Linked DNA regions of Homo sapiens: regions 1, 3, 4 and 5 are each linked to region 2. Evidence: promoter capture Hi-C in 16 types of primary human blood cells and fetal thymus (Javierre and others, 2016). All regions are on one chromosome and are shown on one strand. The core of a region is centred on a gene start or on the middle of the fragment in contact, and the rest is flanking DNA. Distances in the headings are between cores, read along the strand shown.

What was found. Contacts are between HindIII fragments. The CHiCAGO score rates a contact against its expected background, and 5 or more counts as called.
Region 1: a contact is called between a fragment that was not itself captured here and the fragment with the promoter of DDX1 in region 2, in 1 of 17 cell types (endothelial precursors). The highest score is 6.6, in endothelial precursors.
Region 3: a contact is called between a fragment that was not itself captured here and the fragment with the promoter of DDX1 in region 2, in 1 of 17 cell types (total B cells). The highest score is 5.2, in total B cells.
Region 4: a fragment that was not itself captured here is called in contact with the fragment with the promoter of DDX1 in region 2 in 1 of 17 cell types (total B cells); the score reaches 8.5 in total B cells.
Region 5: a fragment that was not itself captured here is called in contact with the fragment with the promoter of DDX1 in region 2 in 2 of 17 cell types (endothelial precursors and M2 macrophages); the score reaches 18.9 in endothelial precursors.

Annotation. Positions count from the first base shown.
Region 1 is chr2:13,059,570-13,063,171 of GRCh38, reverse strand. The region is part of intron 1 of LOC105373436 (a long non-coding RNA gene); the gene reads right to left. Among named protein-coding and RNA genes, the nearest start is that of MIR3125, 320 kb to the right of the region's middle. The HindIII fragment of the contact is 3,982 bases long and covers 1-3,489 here.
Region 2 is chr2:15,590,031-15,593,533 of GRCh38, reverse strand. DDX1 (DEAD-box helicase 1) reads right to left here and starts at 1,666. Exons shown (of 26, transcript NM_004939.3): 1 at 1,585-1,666. The coding sequence starts at 1,600. It overlaps LOC124905975 (a long non-coding RNA gene), which reads left to right and starts at 1,765. Exons shown (of 2, transcript XR_007086224.1): 1 at 1,765-2,074; 2 at 2,202-3,503. RefSeq lists an enhancer at 1,568-1,627. The HindIII fragment of the contact is 5,190 bases long and covers 1-3,038 here.
Region 3 is chr2:17,773,178-17,776,839 of GRCh38, reverse strand. GEN1 (GEN1 Holliday junction 5' flap endonuclease) reads right to left here. Exons shown (of 14, transcript NM_001130009.3): 10 at 3,541-3,621; 11 at 2,439-2,569. The region is part of intron 3 of LOC105373449 (a long non-coding RNA gene); the gene reads left to right. Among named protein-coding and RNA genes, the nearest start is that of GEN1, 21 kb to the right of the region's middle. The HindIII fragment of the contact is 163 bases long and covers 2,316-2,478 here.
Region 4 is chr2:17,811,024-17,814,913 of GRCh38, reverse strand. No RefSeq gene overlaps it. Among named protein-coding and RNA genes, the nearest start is that of MSGN1, 3.5 kb to the left of the region's middle. The HindIII fragment of the contact is 2,090 bases long and covers 822-2,911 here.
Region 5 is chr2:13,038,069-13,041,800 of GRCh38, reverse strand. All of the region lies in intron 1 of LOC105373436 (a long non-coding RNA gene), which reads right to left. Among named protein-coding and RNA genes, the nearest start is that of MIR3125, 300 kb to the right of the region's middle. The HindIII fragment of the contact is 188 bases long and covers 2,069-2,256 here.

The sequences.
Region 1 (3,602 bases), core at 249-2,748, 2.5 Mb after region 2:
AAATTGGCATATAGAAGCTATACTTATACTTCCATGTCTATAACAGCACTATTCACAATAGCCAAAATTCAACCTAGGTGTCCACAAATGAATGCATGGATAACGAAAATATAGTACATACACAATAGAAAATTATTCAGCCATAGAAAGAATGAAATTCTGTCATTTTCAGCAACATAGTTGCAATTGGAGTCATTATTTAAGTGAAATACACCAGTCACAGAATGACAAATATCACATGTTATCACTCACTTGTAGGAGCTCAAAAAGTAAATCTCATGGAGGTAGGCAGTAAAATGGTGGCTACCAAAGACTGTGAAGGGTATGAGGCAAGTGGGGCAATGAAGAGAGGGTACAAAAATGCAGTTAAATTGAAAGAATAAGTTCTAGTGTTTGATATCACAGTAGGATAACTATAATTAATAATAATTTATATTTCATAGTAGCTAGTAGAAAAATTTGGAATGTTCCCAAGACAAAGAAATGATACATATTTGAGGTGACGAATATCCCATTTATCCTGATTGCTACACATTGTATGCTTGTATCATAATATCACGTGTACTCCAGAAAAATGTACAATCATTACGTATCAGTTTTAAAAATTAAGAAAAAAATGCAGAGTAGTTCTATCACCACAGGTATCTCTATAATTTTGTCATTTCAAGGATATTATATAAATGGAATCATACAGTATATCATTTTCTGGGAGTGACTTTTTCACTCAGCTTAATTTTCTAGAGACTCATAAAAGTTGCCGCATGTATCAACAGTACAATTTGTTTTCATTTCTGAGTAGTATTCCATTGCGTGGCTGCACCATGCAATGTGCATAGGGGTCATCTCTAGTGTTTGGTTGTTATGATAAAGCTACTTTGAACATTTGTGTATAGGCTTTCATGTGAGCATAACTTGGAATTCCTCTGGGATAAATACCCGAAAGTGCAATAGTGGGACATATGATAATTACATATTTAGTCCTCTAAAACACTGCCAAACTGTTTTCCAGTGACTGTGCTCTCCGCCAGCTCTGTGTAAGGCTTTAGTTTCTCCACCTTCTCAGCAGCATTTTGTTTTGTCATATTTTTATTTCAGCTATTCTGATAGACGTGTAATGATATATATTTGTAGTTTTCAAAACAATTATAAGATAAATTACAATCTCAATTTTACCAAAAGAAATGAAAGATGGGCCCTTTTATTGTCACTTTTAGCCAGGTTAATTCCATTTGACATAGTAAATCCACTTCCTGGAATCTACCCTACTAGTAAGGAGACAGTTCCCTCATTCTCACTCCAAAATCAAATCCTCTCCTGATTATTTAGTGTTCCAGGACAGTTTGCCAATACTTAAGGACGACACACGTCGTGGGAATGTCAGCCTCCTCGTATTCTGGACAGTTCTTATTTTTTAGTGCAAATATATAAATTGGCATTCTTGTCCATAGGTCAGTATCCTCGGGTAAGTCCATCTGAAGCAGTCCTGAAGATAGATTTGAACTGGGTTTACTGACAAGTCAGTTTCTAATAACCCATCATCACAAAAGCAAGACCCAGGGCCTTGGAAGAGTTTTCTAAAATAATAATACTCAGAGCAAAGCCATGGCAACCAGCCCCTCTCATGGGGACTGCTCAACATCCCTGCAGGCAATGTATTGGCACCTTCTGCAGTAACTATTCAATTTTACAGGTGAATCTTTCATACAGAGAAACTTGATAGCCATAGATATCATCTCAGAGTCTGGATTTTTTAAAACGGAAAATCTTCTTTCTTGAGACTAATACCACTCAGATTTAATTTCTAAAAATGTTTATGATCCCAGCAGGTATAAAATTAATGAGCTGAAGAGAGAGATTAACAGCAGAGTCTAAGTTAATTCTCTCTGAGCAGGAAGTATGAAGATTTACTTATTTTCTTTTTTTTACTATACTTTAAGTTTTAGGGTACATGTGCACAACATGCAGGTTTGTTACATATGCATACATGTGCCGTGTTGATGTACTGCACCCATTAACTCATCATTTACATTAGGTATATCTCCTAATGCTATCCCTCACCCCTACCCCCACTACACAACAGGCCCCAGTGTGTGATGTTCCCCTTCCTGTGTCCATGTGTTCTCTTTGTTCAGTTCCCACCTGTGAGTGAGAACATGCAGTGTTTGGTTTTTTGTCCTTGTGATAGTTTGCTGAGAATGATGGTTTCCAGCTTCATCCATGTCCCTACAGAGGACAAAGATTGAATGAAAAAATTTTAAAAGTACTTCAGAACTTTCTTCTCCTTTCTCTCTCTTTCATACATCCACATAGACATATACACATAGAAGTAGATTAAATATCATATTATTCCTACTGGAATTAATAGAAGCCAATGGACAATTTCTTATCTTGAGTATCAAATATATCCAACCATATTTGCCAAAATTCGATTTAAAAAATATAATTGTGTGTCTATGAATAAATGAAGAAGACAAAGAAGAAATGTTTCATTGCCGCTTCTCTTTGTGTTATTAATAAAATCTCTTATAATCCTTGGAATAATCTTTGGAAGTTACACAATAATTGTTTCCAAAACACTTAAAGTAGGATTCATCAGATGATAAATTCTTTATTTTTGATGCCTATGTGTCTTATTGTTTCTATACCTCATTCATTAAAAGCATAATAATTAATGCTAATGTTTTGTGTTTGTCAAACACCTTTTTTAGGTGTTTTCAAAATAACAGGCTTCATGTGCATTAGTCCTTTAAACCCCTATAATCCTATATCTTAGTTACTAAAATGAACCTTTCTGAGGAATGATTACTGTTCACATAACTTGTCTAAAGTCTTACAGCCAGAAGGGGTGGAGACAGAATCCAAACCCAGTCTCTACTAATATAATCATCGGAGTTGCACTGCCTCCTGTGCCTAGTACCTTGCTAGGTATTAGATAGACACTATAGATACTTGCTAGATAATAACTTGTTTAATGATTATTGATAAATATAAGCAACTATTATTTCTCAAAGTTCTAAAATTTCTTCCCTGTGTGAGGGAAATGAGACATTATGGAAAATAAGAACTAGCCATCAAAGCTAAATACAGTAAAGGTGAAGAAGAAAGCCTGCTTTGAAAGTAAGGCCTCAGGCTACCCCCAAGGATGTGCAGGTTAGAGGTGCAAGAAGGCCCCCAAATGAAGGGGTGAGTGAGGAATGAAATCCAGCTCTGCTCAGCCTGTGCTGGCAAAAGAAGAGCACTTTGTGTAGTGCATCTGCACAAAGAAAGCACATTTTTAATTGGTCCAATTGAGAAGTTTATAAAATTTGGCCAAAATTCTAGCTGCGCCTGTACCAGAGAGGCTCCCATTCCACTCTCAGGTATGTCCCAAACTCATTGAGTGAGCTTGGACAAGCCTAGTTTATTAACTTCCTCCTCCCACTTTGATGCATCCACATATGATGTTAGATTAGATAGTACATGTAAACTTGTACAATAAGATGCAAAGCTTGGACTTTTGTCTACTGTAGGTTTTCAGAGCAGACTAACAACAACAAAAAATTCACCCATGTACTTTGAGCTTTCACTATAGAATGATTTCTGGTTCCTGAGGCAAAAGAGAA
Region 2 (3,503 bases), core at 417-2,916:
CATTCTGGTCATGTTCCCTGCAAGTTTTCTTTGAAAGCGGACCTTAAGTATAATACTTTTAACAGTTAAGGAAAAATTAGAAACATTCGTGAAATTCCAGTTTTGTCTTATTTCATATCACAGACTTTTTCCAGTCCTTTACCTCTAACATTCATGAAATTTGTGTATGACTCCCAAAGATGTGAACCTATAAAATGACTACCTAGAACTATCCTACAGACCTTGGCTCTAAAATCGTTTTAGGAGAATGTTGGGAAAAGAAAAACAGCAACAACTCTGAGCAGTTTCCAATTGAATCCTATTAGAAGATGTAACTGAAACAGTCAGAAATCTTACATGACTGTTGCACTTTGGGAAGCCGAGGTGAGCGGATCACCTGAGGTCAGGAGTTCGAGACCAGCCTGGCCAACATGGTGAAACCCCCGTCTCTACTAATAATACAAAAATGAGCAGGGCATGGTGGTAGGCGCCTGTAATCCCAGCTACTCAGGAGGCTGAGGCAGGAGAATTGCTTGAACCTGGGAGGTGGAGGCTGCAGTGAGCCAAGATCACACCATTGCACTCCAGCTGGGGCGACAGAAGGAGACTACATCCCCCCACCCCCCCATTCTCCCCCCCAAAAAAGAAAAAAAATATCTTACATGACTGGAGATATGGAATTCCTAATATTCTTACAGAAGAAAACTAAAAAATATAAAATACTACATCTGAAGTCATCTTAAAAAGTTAATAACATTAAAGGACATTAGGCCTAACGTGATACATTTATATAGCAATAAACGTTACATAAGTGCTACATAAATGTATCACGTTTAGCGCATTTAAGGCTGATTACAGCTTCCTAAAACTGGATGCCTAACAGGAGGATGATAAAGCAAGAGGCGAAAATATCAACTGTAGGGTTCGATAAGCCATATCAAATCATATTTGGAATAAAGGAGGGTAGCAGACGGCAAATAAATATGAATTTTCCAAACTTATGTTGGACTGGTGCGTACGTTAATGAAAATGCTTTCCCTTTAGCTTCAACACTGAACATTAATGTTGATATAACAACGTTTAAGAACAAATAAAGATCAGGTTTATGCCTGGGACGTTTTGGAAGGGCCTGAAAAAACTGGACAGAGGCAGGATCGTCATTTTTCCCCAATGACTCCTCCCCACGCCGTCTCGCCTCTCTGCCTGGCCAAGCCCAGATGAGCCGCGGGCAGAAAAGGGTTCCCAAAGGGTCACTGCCACGTTAAGAGGCAGGAGGCCCAGGCGTCTGGGAGCCGCCAGAGCAACGCCGCCGCCTAGATTTTGCAGCCGAAGGTGCACTGGCAGGAAAGCCAAGTGGAGACTGGTAGAAGGGAAAGGGCAGGGGGAGGGACGTTCCGGCCCGCTCCTGGGAAGAATCGTCCTCCGAACCCGAGCCGCGGCCGCCCCTGATCCCGCAACGCGGGTCCATCAGGGACTGCAGCGGACAGCGCCCTTCTGTCTCCCTGACCCCTGTCCGCTCCCGCCCCTTTAGCTCTCCGCGGGCGGCCCCAGGGCTGAGGCGTGCAACAAGCCGCCCCACCACCCCCAGAGTTTCCACAAACGCACCGGAGAAGGCCGCCATCTTCACCCCGTCCTCCGCGGCTTCGCCTGCTCGCTCCCTCCCTCCCGACTGACACGGCGTGGCAGTGGCGGCGCGCGCTTCCGGCCCCTGGTCTTCGGCGTTCGGAGTCCGGGCAGGGACTCAGCCCCGGGAGAACGGTTCCGATGGAAGGAAAGGCCCGCGCCGGCCCCGCCTTATGCGCCTGCCGCTGAGCGGACCTCTGGGACCTAGGGCTTCTGGACGCCGCCTTCGTTCTGGGCACCATGTGTTCGGAGCACACCACGCGGTATCAGGGTCACAGCTACAGAGAAGGAAGCAGATGTTTGGTGATTAGGGTCATCCAGTGGGCTCAGGCTGACACCACACCGTGCCCTCCCCACTCAGTCCCCCAGCTTTCCAAAGGTGAGCAGGGCCTTGGTGTGTGAATGACCCGGAGAGATGGACTGGATTCATTGCCCTGAGCACCAATGCCAGTGAGTGCCTGGCAGCCAGTAGGTATTTGTTACATTTTTTTTTTAAACTAAGTAATGATTTAGGTCTCCCTCCCTTCACCCATGTTTGATGTCGCTTTTATAATTTCGGGTTTGACTTCCATGCAATTTTAACTCCTTTCTCTTTGCAGAGAGATGGGGAAAGTAAATGAGGAATCCTCCCAACCAGACACTCACTCTGTCAGGAAGGTATTAGAATCTTTAGATGAGGACTCTAAAATTCGGGAAAGTTAAGTCACTTATCTAAAGACACATATCTACCGAATGGCAGCGTGGGATCTGAGCCACATCTGCGCAATGCGAGGGCGCGTGCTGTGCTATCTGTAGCCTGCCCCAGAGTGTCATGGAGAAAAGTGGAACCCTCAGGCAAGATAGAATAGGGTTGCAGCGGCCGGGCGCGGGGGCTCACGCCTGTAATCCCAGCACTTTGGGAGGCCGAGGCAGGCGGATCACGAAGTCAGGAGGTCGAGACCATCCTAGCTAACACGGTGAAACCCCTTCTCTACAAAAAATACACACACACACACACACACACACACACACAGAAGAAGCCGGGTGTGGTGGTGCATGCCTGTAGTCCCAGCTACTCGGGAGGCTGAGGCAGGAGAATCGCTTGAACCCAGGAGGCGAAGGTTGCAGTGAGCCGAGATCGCGCCACTGCACTCCAGCCTGGGTGACCGAGCGAGACTCCGTCTCAAAAAAAAAAAAAAAGAAAAAAGAATAGGGTTGCAGCTACTCCGGAGGCTGAGGCATGAGAATCACATGAACCTGGGAGGCGAAAGCTGCAGTGAGCTGAGATCGTGCCACTACACTCTAGCCTGGGCGACAGAGGGAGAGTCTGTCTCAAAAAAATAAAAAATAAAAAAGATAGAATAGGGTTAGAAGTACAGAGTTGGGAACCATATTCTGAGTTTGGATTCTAGGTCTGCCACTTGCTTGCTGTGTGACCTTGAACAAGTCATGAAGCTTCTTTGGGCTTCAGTTTACTTACCTGTGAAATAGGGATGAACAATAGTACCTTTCTCATATGATAGTTATGAGGATCAAATAAAATACATAAAGCATCTAAAATAGTGCATAGCACATGGTGACAATATAACTAGCTCTGTTATTACTATTACATGTAACAGGATTCACCTGAAGCTCCAAAGGCCCAGGACAATACACTCAGCCCTGCAGCTTTACACTTCCAGGGGGCACTATTCACATTATATTCTCTATTCTTGTTATATTTTGTCTAAATAAGACCCTGAGAGTTATGCAGTGTACCAGTTTTGAATGGATACCAAGTACCCCCACATTCCAAGGAGAGATACAAGACCCATATTATGCAGGACTTGCCAAAGGGAAATCTGAAATCTAATTTTTGTGCCTTTTGCCAATGCCCACCTTTAAAGTGTGAAAAATCGGCTGGGCATGATGGCTCATGTCTA
Region 3 (3,662 bases), core at 1,148-3,647, 2.2 Mb before region 2:
CTGCACTTTTAAGGAAGGTTTGAGTGGTAAACTCTCTTACTCTTCATATGTTTAAAAACGCTTTTCCTATGAATAATGTTTTAATGATTTCAAGGTTGTAAATTATTTTTACTCGGTACTTTGAAACATCACTCCAGCATCTTCTGGCATCTATTACGGTTATGAAAGATGTGTGCTATCAGATAGCTGATCTTTTTTCTTTTATACTTCCCAGCAAACTGTTTATTCTGAAAAATTTCAAACCTTTATAAAAGTTGCAAAAATAGTACAATGAATACTCACATACTTTTACTGAGATTCATCAATTGTTAACATTTTATCACATTTGCTTTCTCCATTTGCAAGTTAGTTGCAAACATGTCTCATGGCACATCACCCCTAAATACTGCAGCCTGTCTATGTAGAGTATTTTCCTACATTGCCACAAAAAACTTTCACACTCTGGAAGTTTAACAATGATACAATATAGACCATATTCAAATTTCCCCAATTGTCCTAAAAAAAAGGTCCTTTATGACTTAAAAACAATTCAGAATTCAATCAGGATCATTTTTCTTGAATTGTGTTGTCTCTTTATTTTAATCCAGAAAACTACCTAGATATTTTTTATTTTTGAAGAGTCCAGGATAATAGCTCCACAGAACGTTTTTCACTTGGATTCATTAGATTGTTTCCTCATGATTAGATACAGATTAAACTTTCCTTTTTTTTTTTTTTTTTTTTTGAGACAGGGTCTCACTCTGTCACCAAGTTTGGAGTGCAGTGGTATGAACTCAGCTCACTGCAACCTCCACCTCCCAGGCTCAAGCAATCCTCCCAACTCAGCCTTCCAAGTAGCTGGGATCACAGGTGCTCTCCACCACGCCTGGCTAATTTTTTGTATTTTTGGAAGAGATGGGTCTTGAACTCCTGAGCTCAGTCGATCCACCGGCCTCAGTCTCCCAAAATGCTGCTGGGATTACAGGTGCGAGCCACCACGCCCCACCTAGCTCAAGCTTTTTTGGCAAAAATATTATATGATAATGTAGTATCTTTCTCAGTTTAACGTATTAGAAAGCATATGAAAGCAGTCTATTGTTCTTTTATTGGTAATTAATCACTGAGTTAAACTGATGTCCACTGGATTTCTCCACTTTTGAAGATACCATTTTTCCTTTGTAATTAATCTGTAGAGCGGTACTTGAGACTGTGACTATCCTTTCTCTGCAGCAATCTTTCATCTAATGGTTTTAACATCCATTGATGATTGTTGCCTGATTGGTTTGGTACTTTTTAAAATATTCCTTTTATCGTTGATGTCTACAATATGCCTTGGGTATTTCATGTATTGCGACTATAATTTGTAGTATAACTATCTGTCTTAAATTTTGGAAAACTCTCAGACATCATCTCTTCAAAAATTACTTTTCAACCTTTTCTTTTATTAGCTTCTAGGAACTAATCCAAAACTACTCTTAAGCATTTTTTATATGAGAGTCTTTGAGATCATTTCTGTGTGACTTGATTTGTCTTCCAAATCACTAATTTTTTTGGACCAAGTTTAGCCTAGAGACCCCTTGATTGCTTTTTATTTCAACAACTATTTTTAAGCTAATAGTTCACTTTTTATATCCATCCATTTACACACATTTTTATAATTTTGCCTTCTGTTGCTTACAGACATATGTCTTCATCTTTTTGAGGATTCTAGCATTCTGAAAGGCCAACCACACCCACCCCTTGCATAAAACCTGTCAGACTGTTTTAAAACTTAATTTAATCCGAAGTGAATTCATGACGCAATTGTTGATTTTAAAAATATTATATTTCTTTATATGTTAAGCTTTCTTCTTCAATTCTTTTATATTTTATCTGTCTTCACTTCTATCTCTCTAGTCTCTTTGAGTAATTTCCAGTGGGCTTTCTGGGCTTCAGGCAGCATTTGGTTAGTTTTTTATTATCTACCCCAGCCTCTAATCTCCTGATAGGAACAGAGAAATTCCACCCTAGCTACTGGGTTTCAAGAAATAAGCCTGACTCCATCAACATCTTGCACTTTTGGTCCCCATTTTTTTTTTTTTCTCTGAAGCGATTTACCTCCTGGATGATACGGCTGCTTCTAGATTTAAGGCTCTGCAAAACCAGTTTTAGTTCCCACATTCCCTTAACACGTTTGTTCCTTTTCTGGTCCACTGAAATAGTTGTCTTATAAAGCCTGGCTATATCCTTTTATGCTTGTTTCTTTTTATAATCTATTATTACTATGTGTTTGAAGTAGAAAAGTATGATAAAGCATGACTTACTATGTTGTTCTGATTATAAGCCCTGAATAAGCTTTTAATATTCCAGGAGGCCTTTCCTCCACCTTTACAAAAACGAGCTTAAAGATATTAGGAATATTTTAATTATAAAATACTCAAGTAAAAACACCACCTTCACCATACAGTTCTTTACATTACCGAATTGGCTGTAGTTGATTAGAGTTTCTGCTACCAAGCTTTCTTTCTATCATGTCATAATGGGTCAAAAGTACCAGCAATTTCTCACATGCATAGTGATTGGGCCACTCCATTTTTTCAAGAGTAAATCTCTATAAATATAATAAAAATAAAACAAGATTTTGTTATCTCTTGGAGACAAATAGCACTCCTAGGTGATATTAATATTTTTTCCTTTAGAATTAACGTAAGTTAAAGTAGTATCAATGAGAATATTCTAGAAACAATGAGCCTCCTAAGGAAGAATCATTATTGCATAATGATTAAGAGTGAAGGCTCTCGGTTTGAACGCCAGGATGATATTTCTTAGATGTTGGGTAACTTACTTAAACTCTCTTAGCCTCAGTTTTACCATCTGTAATGTGAAAATATTACAACCCACTTCACAGATTACAAAGATTGAGATTACATGCAATGCATTAAACATAACAGCAAATTTAAATGTCTAACAAATGTTGGCTGTCATTATTAATGTGGCTGTCGTTCTTAATGTGGCTGTCATTACTTACAGCTGGTACTTGTAAGTACCCAGTTGTTGCAATTTATTGAGCCACTCCGTGTCCCTAGCCACTATATTAGGAGTTAATATAAATAATCTCATTTAATCCTCATGGTGACTTTATGAGATAAGTAATATTATTTCTGTTTTGAGAATAACACACATCCAGGGTCACACAGTAGGTGGAATACGGTCCAAATTTAAATTTAGGTCATTAATTTCAGATATCAATGTTTTTGTAAATGATACTACCTTCCATAATTATATACTTGATCTTAACATTCTCTTGTTATTAAACCCTCTTCCCCCAAAATATCCATGGATGCAATATATCCACATATGCTAATTAAGGCATCTTCTAAAACAGCATAACTATACTTTGTCTTATAGTGTGCAAAGATGGCCACTGTATGGCAAATGAGAGAGTAGAAATAAATGCTGAAAAAATATAAGAGCTGCCTGTTTTAATTTTAAACCTCCTCTAAGACCAATCAGAGTGAATATCTGTTCCTATCTTTCCAGCATATAACTTCATACAGTAAAGAAGAATTTATTTTCAGATACCTGAAACAATAACAAATCAGGTCTTTGGTACCTGATAACCTTCACCAATTTATCCTTGTTTAAAAGGAATTCTTGAATAACCTAGCAAGAAAAAAGAAAATAGAAACTGAGATTTAAACTTT
Region 4 (3,890 bases), core at 617-3,116, 2.2 Mb before region 2:
TGTCAACTGAGTAGTGTACATTGTACCCAATATGTAGTTTTTTATATCCCTCACTCTCCTCCCACCCTCCCCCTTCTGAGTCTCCAAAATCCATTATACCACTCTGCATGCCTTTGCATGCCCATAGCTTAGCTCTCATTTATAAGTAAGAACATATGGTATTTGATTTTTCCATTCCAGAGTAACTTCACTTAGAATAATGGCCTCCAGCTTCATCCAAGTTGCTGTAAAAGACATTATTTCATTGGCTTTTTTTTATGGCTGAGTAGTATTCCATGGTGTATATATATCACATTTTCTTTATCCACTCGTTGGTTGATGGGCACTTAGTTGGTTCCGTATCTTTGCAATTGTGAATTGTGTTGAAGTAAACATATGCGTGTAGGTGTCTTTTTGATAGAATGACTTCTTTTCCTTTGGGTAGATACCCAGTAGTGGGATTGCTGGATCAAATAGTAGGTCTACTTTTAGTTCTTTAAGAAATCCCCATCCTGTTTTCCATAGAGGTTGTGCTACTTTTCATTCCCACCAGCAGTATGTAAGTGTTCCCTTTTTACCACATCCATGCCAACATTTGGGTTTTTTTTTTTACTTTGTTTATTACAAACCTATTCTGGCTGGGGCAAGGCAGTATCTCGTTGTGGTTTCAATTTGCATTTCCCTGATAACTAGTGAGGTTGAGCATTTTTTCATGTTTGTTGGACATTTGGATATCTTCTTTTGAGAAATGTCTATTCATGTCATGTGCCCACTTTTTGATGAAATTATTTGTTTGTTTCTTGCTGATTTGTGTGAGTTCAAGGAACTTATATGATTAAGCTTCTTTTTAAAAAAGACAAAAAACAAAAAGACCAACATGTTATGGATGAAAATACTGAGACTCTCAGATGTGAAGAAACTCAGTTAAGATTTCCCGGGTAGGAAGTGGTAGAGTCACTAGGGAGTGGTAGAGCAAAGATTCCTTGTCAGACCCCAAAGCTCACTTTCTTTTTTTAAAATCTATTTTCACTCTTTCATGGGTTGTGGTAGAGGCAGATGGCCTGAGTGTGACTCAGAGAGGGAACTCCCAGGGGACACAAGGCAGCTGTGGGGGCCGCTGCCATGGCAGACTCTCGATCCTTGTGTTCTAACTTCACAGTTTTCCACGTAACACTGCTTCTGCTCTCAGACTCCATAACTCTTTTTTCCCTTTCCCACAGCTTCTTTCTAAAACTGCTAATTTCTTGAACTTCCATTTTTAGAAATTTCGTTTCCTAAATGAGACAATATCTGTCAAATCCTTAGTGCACTGTAGACACTTAATAAATGTAGTTCTTGTCATTATTGTTATTGACTGAGTGTTGTCAAACCCACCAGCAACAGAATGACTTACCGAGCTGTGACTCTTCTGCTCCTGACCCCAGTTTCCCAGCCTTCTTGGCCCCTGAAACTATTCTTGGAGAAAGGAAGCTGCCTGGTTTTCATGTTTCTTGATGTGCACTCTCTCTTTGGTAAGAAATAAAGCAGAACCAGACTTGCATCTATCTGAGAAGCATTCTGTGCTCAATCTGAGGGAAATAAAAGTCAAGGACAATGTAACACTGCAGTACAGACATTCGAAGGCTATAGTTAGGCAGACACTAGCTGGTGCTTTTCTGTCTCCAGTTTGAACAAAGCAACAGAACACTGGATAAGGCTAGACCAGACAGGCAAAATTTACACTGGACCCAGTAAAATCTGGCTGAGAGCATGGTGTTGTGGAAGGATGAGACAGAACTTGCCTCCTTTAGAGCAAGTGACTCACCCCTCACAGCCTAAGTATTTTAGTGCGTAAAAGGAGGTAATAACACTTTTCCTGTGTTCTTCTTCTTCTTCTTTTTTTTTTTTTTTTTTGACGCAGGGCCCAGGCTGTAGTGAAGTGGCACCATCTAGGCTCACTGCAACCTCTGCCTCCTAGATTCAAGTGGTTCTCATGCCTCAGTCTCCCAAGTAGCTGGAACTACAGGTGTGTGCCACCATGCTCAGCTAACTTTTGTATTTTTAGTAGAGACAAGGTTTCACCACGTTGGCCAGGCTGGTCCTAAACTCATGGCCTCAAGTAATCCACCCGCCTCCACCTCCCAAAGTGCTGGGATTATAGTAAGCCATCGTGCCCAGCCTGCTCTGTCTTCTTTATCAAGAGCATTCATTACATGAGGAGGGTGTACCAAGGGATCATTAAACTCCCGTCTAGCTACAAAATGCCATGAAACATGTTACTACCATGTGAATATGCTTGGTTAAAAGAGCACTGTACCAGCATGAAGGCATTTGGGGATATCATTGAGTCCATCATTTCTTTAAATCTGCATTCTACACATGGTGAATGACTTGCTCAATGTCATACCCAAAGGCTGTGGCAGAGATGGAAAGAGAAAAGCCAAAGTTGCCTGCCTCCCATATCTGTCCTTTTTCTTCCTTTGAAACTAATAGGACTAATTGCAAAGTATTCACATCAGGCAGACTACGTATTTCCCACATTACTGATTTATTGGGATAAATATTTTACTTCAAATGTCATTCAAGCAACAGATATTTATAAGCTATTGTGACTATGACTGTGACAGATTGAAAAGAGGCCCCCAACCTTGAGGCCCACTCTCAAGAGACCTTGAAAAATGTTCAGGTCCTATTTTCCAAAGTATAAGACAAAGGTACAGGTTGTTTCATCTCTCAAATCCCAGGCCTTCATATTGACCTTTTTATTGTAGCTACACTCACTAAGGAGGATCCCAGATTTGCCATACATATTAATAAGTGGTCTGTGTCTAATTTTCAGAATGATGAGCTTCTGAGGGAATGCTGGTCATGTTCCTGACAACAGTCAGGACAACTGGGCATTTCACACTGGCCTCAGAGGATTGTAAACTCTACATTTAAGAGCCAGGAAGCTTTCTTGAGGCAGAGCCACTTCCAGGAAATTGGCAAATAGTGCTCAAAGGATAGACAGAAAACAGAAATCAAGAGGCTGATGGAATTCCTTAAGCTGTGGCCACCGGTGGTTCCATGCCATTACCAGCCCATACGGCTCCTTTGTGCAAATTACAAAACAACCAAGCTAAGGCTTATTTCAGCCCTGCTTGCCTCTTCAGCCCAGCACCTTTGTGCAGGGTGCACCCTCCTCAAGCAGTGGCCCTGGGAGCCCCTGTGATGTGCCTCCTCTGCAATGTTAGCATTTTTAGTACTTTGGTGGCTGTTTGAACATCGGTGAACAGATAGAACATGGGGGTAGTGGCAAGAGTGCAGGAATAGGAGCCAGGTCAAACCTGTCACATCTTACATTTCCTCCTCTGTTATTGTGACCTGGGACACATGAATCAATCTTTCTCAGCTTCAGCTTCATCTTCATCTGTGCAATTGAAATACTAATACTTGCCTTATAGAGTACACGCTTTTAGCAGGTTTACACATTGTAAACTGTAAGTGTGGTAACTAATGTTGCTGTAATTATTAATCTTGTGCTGGGGCAGGGTGCTGTAGCTCATGCTTGTAATCCCAGCACTTTGGGAGGCCAAGGTGGGTGGATCACGAGGTCAGGAGATCGAGAGCATCCTGGCCAACATGGTGAAACCCCGTCTCTACTAAAAATACAAAATTAGCTCGGTGTGGTGGCATGTGCCTGTAATCCCAGCTACTTGGGAGGCTGAGGCAGGAGAATCACTTGAACCTGGGAGGCGGAGATTGCAGTGAGCCGAGATCGTGCCACTGTACTCCAGCCTGGTGACAGAGCAAGACTCCATCTCAAAAAAACAAACAAACAAAAATCTTGTGCTGGGTACATTCTTGGTTCCTTGAGTCAAGAGAAGTTAGAGCCACAATACAAGTAGCCACAAATATATCACTCCCACTTTCTCTTGGCCTCAAGTCCCCCC
Region 5 (3,732 bases), core at 913-3,412, 2.6 Mb after region 2:
CCAATCTCTTCTGGCTTGTAGGATTTCCACTGAGAGGTTTGCTGTTAGTCTGATGGACTTCCATTTATATGTGACCCGGTCTTTGTCTCTGGATGCCCTTAACATTTTTTCCTTCATTTTGATCTTGAAGAATCTGATGATTATGTGTTTTGGGGTTGATCGTCTCATGGAGTATCTTACTGGGGTTCTCTGAATTTCCTGAATTTGAATGTTGCCCTATCTTACCAGGTTGAGGAAGTTTTCCTGGATAATGTCCTGAAGTGTGTTTTCCAACTTGGTCCTATTCTCCCTGTCTCTTTCAGGTACCCCTATCAGCTGTAAGTTCAGTCTTTTAATGCAATGCCATAGTTCTTGGAGGTTTTATGCATTCCTTATCATTATTTTTTCTCTAATCTTGTCTGCCTACCTTATTTCAGCAAGATAGTCTTCAAGCTCTGATATCCCTTCTTCAGTTTGGTCTATTCGGCTATTGATATTTGTGTTTGCATTGTGAAGTTCTCACGTTGTGTTTTTCAGCTCCTTCAGGTTATCTATGTTCCTCTCTCAACTGGTTATTCTGGTTAACAACTCCTCTGATGTTTTATCATGGTTCTTAGCTTCTTTGCAATAAGTTAGAACGTACTCCTTTAGCTAAGTGAAGTACATTATTACCCATCTTATGAAGCCTACTTTTGTCAGTTCAACCATCTCAACCTCAGCCCAGTTCTGTGCCATTGAGGGAGATGTGTTGTGATCATTTGGAGAATAGGCACTCTGCCTTTTAGAGTTTTCAGCACTTTTACACTGATTCTTTCTCATCTTCTTGGGTTCATCTACCTTTGATCTTTGAGGCTGCTGACCTTTGGATGGAGTTTTTGTGGGGTCTTTTTCATTGATGTTGTTGTTGTTGTTGTTGCTTTCTCTTTGTTTTTCTTTTAGCGGTCAATGCCCTTTTCCATAGGGCTGCTGCAGTTTGCTGAGGGTCCACTCCAGACCCTGTTTTCCTGCGTCCCTCCTGCTCCTGAAAATATAACTAATAGAGGCTGCAGAACAGCAAAGATGGCAGCCTGCTCCTTCTTCTGGGAGCTCTGTCCCGGAGGGGCACAGACTTGATGCCAGCTGGAACGCTCCTGTATGAGGTGTCTGGAGACTCCTGTTGGGAGGTCTCACCCAGTCAGGAGGACAGGGATCAGGGACCTGCTTAAATAAGCAATCTGACTGCCCCTAGTTGGAGCAGGTGTGCTGCGCCATTGCCTGGGCTGCCCTGACTCTCCAGAGCCAGTAAGCAGGCAGATAAGACTAAGATTCATGATACTGCAGCTGCACCTCCTCCTAGGGGCTCCTCTCAGGGATATCAGAGTTTTGTTCATAAATGCCTGCCTGGGGATGCTGAATTTCCTGCAGGGAGGTCCCACCCAGTGAGGGGGAGTGGATCAGGGTCCTGCTTAAGGAAACAGTCCAGCCACGAACTGCCCCAGCCGCTGTGCTGCACTGTGGGGAATTGCTCCCAGTACAAACCGCGCTGGCGCTGGCGGCAGGGGAAAACAGCCGACTAGAGGCGCAGTGATGGTGGCTGTCCCTGCCCCCTGGGAAACTCGGGGTCTCAGTGCCTGCTCCAGCCGCCGCCTACCTGAGCAGCCGCCAAGAGTCTGCACTGCTCTATGCTTGGGAGCCAAGAATCCTGGTTGGTGTGGGCTCACAAGGGGACCGCCTGATTTGCAGGTTGCAAATCAGGAGGGATCTCCTCCAGCCAGATCTGTGGGAAAAGTGGGGTTTTCAGGGAGAAGGAGCAAAATCCCTCACCGCCTCCCTTGGCTGGAAGAAGGAGCTCCCTTTGCCTCGTGCAGCTCCCAGGTGAGCCCTTGCTCCACCCTCCTTTTCCTCGCTCTCCGTGGGTCGCCATAACCACTTGGTTCTCATGAGCGATCCTTGGTACCTCAACTGAAGATGCAGAATTCACTCACTGTTTTTATCCTTTTTGGTGGGAGCTGCAGAGCAAAGCCATTTCTATTCGGCCGTCTTGGCTGCTCCAACAATTTCTTTAAAATAGCATCCAAGAGAATAAGTTTAACAAAGGAAGTGCAAAGCTTATACTCTGAAAACTAAAAATATTGTTTGAAGTCATTAAAGGAAAACTAAATAAACGGAAATATATCCTATATTCATGGATGAGATGACTTAATAATTTTAAGACAGCAATACTCCTCAAATTCATCTATATGCTCAATGTAATTCCTATCAAAATCTTAGCTGAACTTTTGCAGAAATTGACAAGCTTATTCTAAAATTCATATATAAATTCAAGTGACCAAGAGTAGCCAAAACAATGTTGAAACAGAAGGACAAAGTAGGAGGATTCCACTTTGCTATTTCAAAACGTACCAAAAAGCTACAATAATAAAGACAGTGTAGCAGTGGCATCAGGATCAATATGCAGATCAACGGCAAAGCACTGAGGGTCCATAATTCACCCTTCCCATTTACAATCAATGGATTTTTGACAGCATATTCCACAGGGAAACAAGGAGAAAGTAGTATTTCCAGCACATGGTGCTGGGATAACTGGGTATCCACATACAAAAGAATGAAGTTGATACCTACTTCATACAACATGTAAAAACTAACTTAAAATGCATTAAAGAATTTAATAGAAGAGATAAAACTATAAACTCTCAGAAGAAAACATTGGGATATTTGTGACCTTGGATTAAGCAGTGGTTTCTTAGATGAAACATTTAAACGTTTATCCAAATTCCGAAGTAAGGAAACTGGTTACAGAGAACCATGTATTGTAGGATTCTGCTAATAGGAAACATCCAGAATAGGCAAATCTATAGATGCAAAGTATATTAGTAATTGAGGGAACACATCAAATTTTTAAAAATCCACTTAGGGCCTCGGCAGTTTAGTCGTGATAGAATTCTTATAGCTTGAGAACTGATAGAACCTGAGTAAATAATCAGATTTGTAAGAGGCACCAGTGGAAGTGAATAGCATAGTAACAGCCAGATCATTGCAGGCTGCTAGAGCTTCACCACTAGGATCAGAGGCACTGGCATCCCACAAAATCTGGTGAACTAGCAGCTGGATTTGACCTGAGACTAAATAATGAATTTTTCTGGTAAAAGACGATCTGGCAACTGGGTCCTATTGCAAGACTTTATCAGAGTCTGCATTTTTGACAAGTGGCAACAAAGAAACAATAAGAATGTCTGACGTATGGACAAGTATAGGCAAACTTAGGGATTCTCAGAAATATTGAGGGCATTGCGCTTTGGGAAAGAGACTAGAGTTTCTGTTAATTTGGCAAGATAGAACTAGTATCATTAGAGTATTAAAGAAAATGTGATATTGATACACACTGGCAGGGTCAGGAACATGGTGGTAACATATTATTTATAGTCTTCATATTAATCCTTCAATGTATATTATGTGCCTTTTACAATTTAAGAACGAGACTCATAGAGGTTAATACATTGCCCAAAGTAGTAGGCTAGTAAGTGAAGGTGTATGCATTTAAACTCATACTTATGAAGACAAAGTCTATTATCTTTTGACTGGACTAAGGAGTCCAGGCTGTTCTATAGGATCATTAATGTTTATGGATATTGAGGTCCTTGAAAAATCATTACAATCCTATGCCTTGGGCAAAATTTCAAAAGTTCTTCCTGTTACACATATCAGCAATACCCCAAGCATTCTTTAAAAATAGATGGTTCAAAATAACTATTTTATTAGACTCATTTATTACTG